Linked DNA regions of Homo sapiens: region 2 is linked to region 1. The links are contacts of gene promoters, found by promoter capture Hi-C in human tissues and cell types (Jung and others, 2019). All regions are on one chromosome and are shown on one strand. The core of a region is centred on a gene start or on the middle of the fragment in contact, and the rest is flanking DNA. Distances in the headings are between cores, read along the strand shown.

Evidence for each region. The method cuts DNA at HindIII sites, captures the fragments that hold promoters and counts their contacts. A contact is called where the count stands out against the background at its distance.
Region 2: a fragment that was not itself captured here is called in contact with the fragment with the promoter of KRTAP4-11 in region 1 in 2 of the 25 tissues and cell types used here (lymphoblastoid cells and mesenchymal stem cells).

What each region holds. Positions count from the first base shown.
Region 1 is chr17:41,117,015-41,119,714 of GRCh38, forward strand. KRTAP4-11 (keratin associated protein 4-11) reads right to left here and starts at 1,359. Exons shown (of 1, transcript NM_033059.4): 1 at 167-1,359. The coding sequence starts at 1,301. The coding sequence ends at 714. The HindIII fragment of the contact is 2,482 bases long and covers 1-1,421 here.
Region 2 is chr17:40,873,056-40,875,755 of GRCh38, forward strand. All of the region lies in intron 1 of LOC105371777 (a long non-coding RNA gene), which reads left to right. Among named protein-coding and RNA genes, the nearest start is that of KRT12, 7.2 kb to the left of the region's middle. The HindIII fragment of the contact is 4,870 bases long and covers 1-2,700 here.

The DNA of each region.
Region 1 (2,700 bases), core at 109-2,608:
AGTTTATGCGTGACATTGGAGCAGTTTGGCACTATGAGTTCATCCCTGAAGTCTTACTTTGGAATCATGCTTTGAGAATCCCCTTCTACTGCATTCCCACCTCACCCCCATGAATCAGTAAACTCAGTGAAAATTATCACAAAAAAATGCAAAAAACAATAAAAGATTTCTAAATGAAAAGTTTAATACAATATATTTTGTGAACACAATAAAGATAAAGAACCAATAAAATAGAAAAATTCTGGCAAACTTGAACAAACAGAGACAAAGAGAGAACAGGGAGAAAGCAGGAGAGCATGGGAGGGGCAGCCTCCTACCTTTCCAAGAGAAAAGAATGACTGAAAGGCTGACAGACAAATAATATGTTTGAAATGGAGATAATGTGTACCTCACTGGGAAGGATATTCTGTAGGCTCAAAACGATTTAAAAAATGAGGAATTTAGAGGATTGGAATAATTTCTTAGCTAGTGGATTACAAATTATTTCATATTTGGTGCCATGACTGGAAGAGAAAGAAAGCAAGGGAGGGAGTTTAAAATGAACCAGAATGTTCTCACAGAGTCAGTGGGATGGTGATGGGCTCATTGGAAACATGAAGTCCACCCTGCTGAATGACATCAATCCCACTCCATGTGTCCTAATAGTCAGCACAGAAGAATGGTCTACAACTGTGGGCCTGCAGTGAAGGGAGAGATGAGCCAGGGCAGTGGGCTCAGCAGCAAGAGGAGGCACAGCACAAGGGGCGGGGGCAGCTGGAGATGACACAGGTTGGGCGATAGCAAGTGGTGTGGCAGGAGACTCGGCCACAGACTGGACGCAGGCAGCAGCAGGGGCGGCAGCAGCTGGATTCACAGCAAGAGGGGCGGCAGCAGCTGGAGATGCTGCAGCTGGGGTGGCAGCAGGTGGGCTGGCAGCACACAGACTGGCAGCACTGGGGTCTGCAGCAGCTGGACACACAGCAGCTGGGGCGACAGCAGCTGGAGATGCAGCATCTGGGGCGGCAGCAAGTGGGCTGGCAGCACATAGACTGGCAGCACTGGGGCTTGCAGCAGCTGGACACACAGCAGCTGGGGCGACAGCAGCTGGAGATGCAGCATCTGGGGCGGCAGCAGGTGGGCTGGCAGCACACAGACTGGCAGCACTGGGGCCTGCAGCAGCTGGACACACAGCAGCTGGGGCGACAGTAGGTGGTCCTGCAGCAGGTGGTCTCACAGCAGCTGGGGCGGCAGCAGGTCTCCTGGCAGAGGTCTCGGCCACAGCCTTGGTGAGAGCACACGGAGCCACAACAGGAGTTTACCATGGTGTCAGAGGGTGAAGGATCTAGTTGGGTTTCTAGGAGAGTGAAGTTCTTGTGTTTGGAAGTCTCCTGGGCCTGTAGTCCCTTTATACCCTCCTGAAGGCCCATTGCCACCACATCATTATTTCCTTGTTATTATTTACCTACTGGAAAAATTAATCATGTAATTACATCATTGTGTTTCCAGTTAAATACTCCAAAACAGAGAAAATAACCCATTTCCTTTTCCTGCTGTGCTCCTGTGTTTCCATTGGAAATGCATGTCATATTTCTTCATTAGTGGGGAGTCACCTTTGTCCCTGGTCTATGCAGTGTCTTTTACAAAGCACTGGTCACAGGACTCTCTGACATTTTGTTTTTAAATGTGACTCTCCCTCCTACCTGCAGATTGCTGTCTGCAAATCATGGGGGATGATTTTTATAATGTGAATGTATCTTTTGTTGTCAAAGAATGTCCTGGTCAGGTGAAATGTTGGGAAGGAATTAGAAGGAAGCACTCATTTGGGGAAGGATGTCCCATCTGTAATGAGGATGACTCTGATCCCATGTGTGCATCTCGGATGGTCGGGCAGATGGTCAGATCCCAAGAAGTTCTAAACTCTGTCAGATCTTATTCCACAGCCTCCAGCGAAAGTACTTACCCATGACTCACTGCCTTTAAAGGGTAAAAACACATTTTGCTGTATGTCTTACAGTATATGCATTATGAGTAGGAAGTTTTGATTTATCTTTTTTTTTTTTTTTGACAGATTCTCAATCTGTCGCCAGGCTGGAGTACAGTGGCATGATCTCTGCTCACTGCAACCTCCACCTCCTGGGTTCAAACGATTCTTTTGCCTCAGCCTCCCGAGTAAGGTGGTTTGCGCCATCACACCCAGCTTACTTTTGTATTTTTAGTAGAGACAGGGTTTCACCATGTTGGCCAAGATGGTCTCGATCTCTTGACCCCGTGATCCACCTGCCTTGGCTTCCCAAAGTGTTGGGATTGCAGGCATGAGCCCCCAACACCCAGCCTGATTAATCTTTGATCATCAAAATTGCATGATGGATTTTTCATTTACAAAAGCATTTGTTATATATAAAGAATATTTAGAATTATTAAGCCTTCAATAACATGCATCCAAGATGTTCTATTGGGTACTCTGGGTGTAGAACAGATAAACCCTCAACTTTTTCTTGCAGGTACTTGCATAAGACACATGGATAGGAAACAGTTTGGCAGAAATGAAAAGAATTACAATTATTTTCATTAAACAACTAAAATAAGAAATGTATAATATGTGGATAAGTTCCATACACCCTCATGGTATGTATATTACTTGTGAAGTATTGACTATGTAGCAGGCATTGTACCAAATATCTTACATTTGTTTCATTTTCACGCTTTAATAGAACCTTATGA
Region 2 (2,700 bases), core at 107-2,606, 240 kb before region 1:
AGGGGTATGAGTGAGATTGACTTCTGGGCTCCAGAGATCAATGGTTCTTGAAAGCAGGGGAGAATTTTGAAAGTGGTAGGAGACAGGAAGATGATAAAATAATACCCTGATGAGAGGAATCTTGGAAATGAGCCTAGGGGAGAGAAAACAGAGATGTTTGAAAGAGAATTCAAAAATAAAAATCACTACTAATGCTTTAAGTTGGAATTGTTACTTGGGGGTCTAATCAGGTACCTGAGGCTGATCCTGATGCATGTGGATGAGAACAGAGTGTCTGAGGAGGTCACTGGCCATGTTTTGATTTTGTATCACTCCATGTCATTCTCCTTTTTAGATGATTCAGAACTCTGGGTAGAAATAATCTCCAGAGCTCAGAAAAAATAGTTATTTCCATCCTAACCTCACCTCTAGGGGCTCTCTCTGAGTTTGATAGCTTCACTTCTGCACTGACAATTTCATATAAAATGAAAAAATACATTGATGATAATTCTAATGTGTGATAAAGACTTCTCTCTGGATCTGTTTACCTGTCAGAAATAGGATTATGTCATTCTAGTTCTTAGCTCATATCAGAAATATAGATAGATACAAAGATTAATGCTTCACTTTCACACAGTAACTGCTGGCAGAACTGGAGGTAGAACTCCACCATCTGGTCCACATGTATGTAGCTCTCACTCACTTCTTTGAAAGATTGCTTGGAAGAAACTAGAGACAGACCAAAGAAGCAAGAGGAAGAAAAAATCTTCATTTTTCTGATCTAAAAATAACAATTCTACTTCTTTTAACAGGTAGTTAAAAGAGGACCATCCTAAATTAAGAATAACAATCCTACCTCTTTTAACACAGTGTCATCATTGCCATATAACAGTGGTCAGGCCTAATCAGTTACAAACCCATCTGCATAGGTTTCTTATTAATCAGATTCACAGTCTGGTATTTGCATGTCAAAGTTTCAGACTATTCTGGAATGTGTCTCAGTAGGTGAAAAAGAATTCACTTTTAAATATTCTTAACATCTTTAAATGCAACTTACTAGCTAGCGTGACTTGGAAGAAAATTAAGAAAAAAATGAGTGAAATCTTTTCACTTTGGAAAAGAAGGCAATGAGAATAGGTGAGAATACCTTTTCTGACAAAAGTTGTACTGAATCAAGTCATGTGTGATGTTAGCCAGCAAAGCTGGACATTTGCCACAATTGGCTGTTGTGTCTGGCTGATGAAAATGACAATTAGAAAACAACAAAATAACTGCGGATAGGCAAGTGCCTATTTCAACTGTGAATCATGTATTGCTTTGTTATGTAATTAGTTGCTTATGAGGGTGTCCTGGTTTTAGAGAAACAGCGCTGAGGTTCAGTCTCGCTCTACTACTTGGTAACTGCTTGACTTTGGGAAAGTCTTTATCTCATGTCTTCATATGAGTCCTCATTTATCCTCATATGTAAAGTGGGGGTAACATAATAAGGTTGAACCTTATTATATATGCTATATAATAGCATATAAAATTGCTATTTCTGAAAGTCAGAAATTATCATATATTGGAAAGCTTTAAAAAAATCTTTATTCTTTCAATTTAAAATAATGAATCAAGTGCCTGCTATGTGTTAGATATTATATTACATCTTAGGAATTCAAAGTGGTACCATTCACATCCTCAAAAATTCCCAACTCTTAGAAATTATCATATATTGGCAAGTTCATATGATTCAACCTAATAGCTTCTACCTCACAGGATTATTGTGAGAATTAAATGAGAAATGCATGAAATGTTTGGCACACAGGCTCATAGTAAGTGCTCAATAAATGGTGGATATTATTATTCTTAAATGAATCATGTAATTATTTTCTATATAATAATCAAACTCAATCCCACTTATTTGCAACTTCTGTATCAAGTTTTAAGTCCAATCTATTTACTGGAATACAATGATTTAGCACACATTGATTTTTCCCATAAACATTCATATGCAATGATTGCTCACTAAAATGCAAAAAGGGTGAGGATACAATATGTGTTTTTATTGTTTTTGGATTTGGCTTCTTTCACTTAGCATGTTTTCGAAGTTCATCTCTGTTATAGCATGTATCAGTACTTCATTCCTTTTTATTGACGAATAAGATTCTATTGTGTGGATATATTACATTTTGTTTATCCATTCATCGGTTGATGGACACTTGAGGTGTTTCGCTTTGGGGCTTTTATGAGTAATGCTGCTATGAACATTTGTGTATAAAAGGACACATCGTATTAACCTATTTATATGAAATGTCCAGAGTAGGCAAATCCGTAGAGACAGGAAGTAGATTAGTGGTTGTTAGGGGCTGGGAGGAAGGGAAAAGGCGGTGACTACTAATAGGTACAAGATTTCCTTTTGGGGTGATGAAGTGTTCTAAAACTAGATAGTGGTGATGGTTGCAAAACATTGTAAGCATACTGAAGACCACTGAATTGTACGTTTTGTAAGGGTGAATTTCATGGTGTGTGAATTATATCTCAATAAATCTGTTATTAAAAAAATGAGAGACATTTCATTAAAAATATATGTTCACCATATAAAGAAAGAGAGGACCTGATAGTATATGCAGCTTATTATCAAAAGGAGACACATTTTGCCTTGAGAAGGGTTTCAGTAATGTTGTTTTTAATCTATTTCCATTTTAAGTATAGTGTACTTCACTCTTATTCTGCTCAGCATTT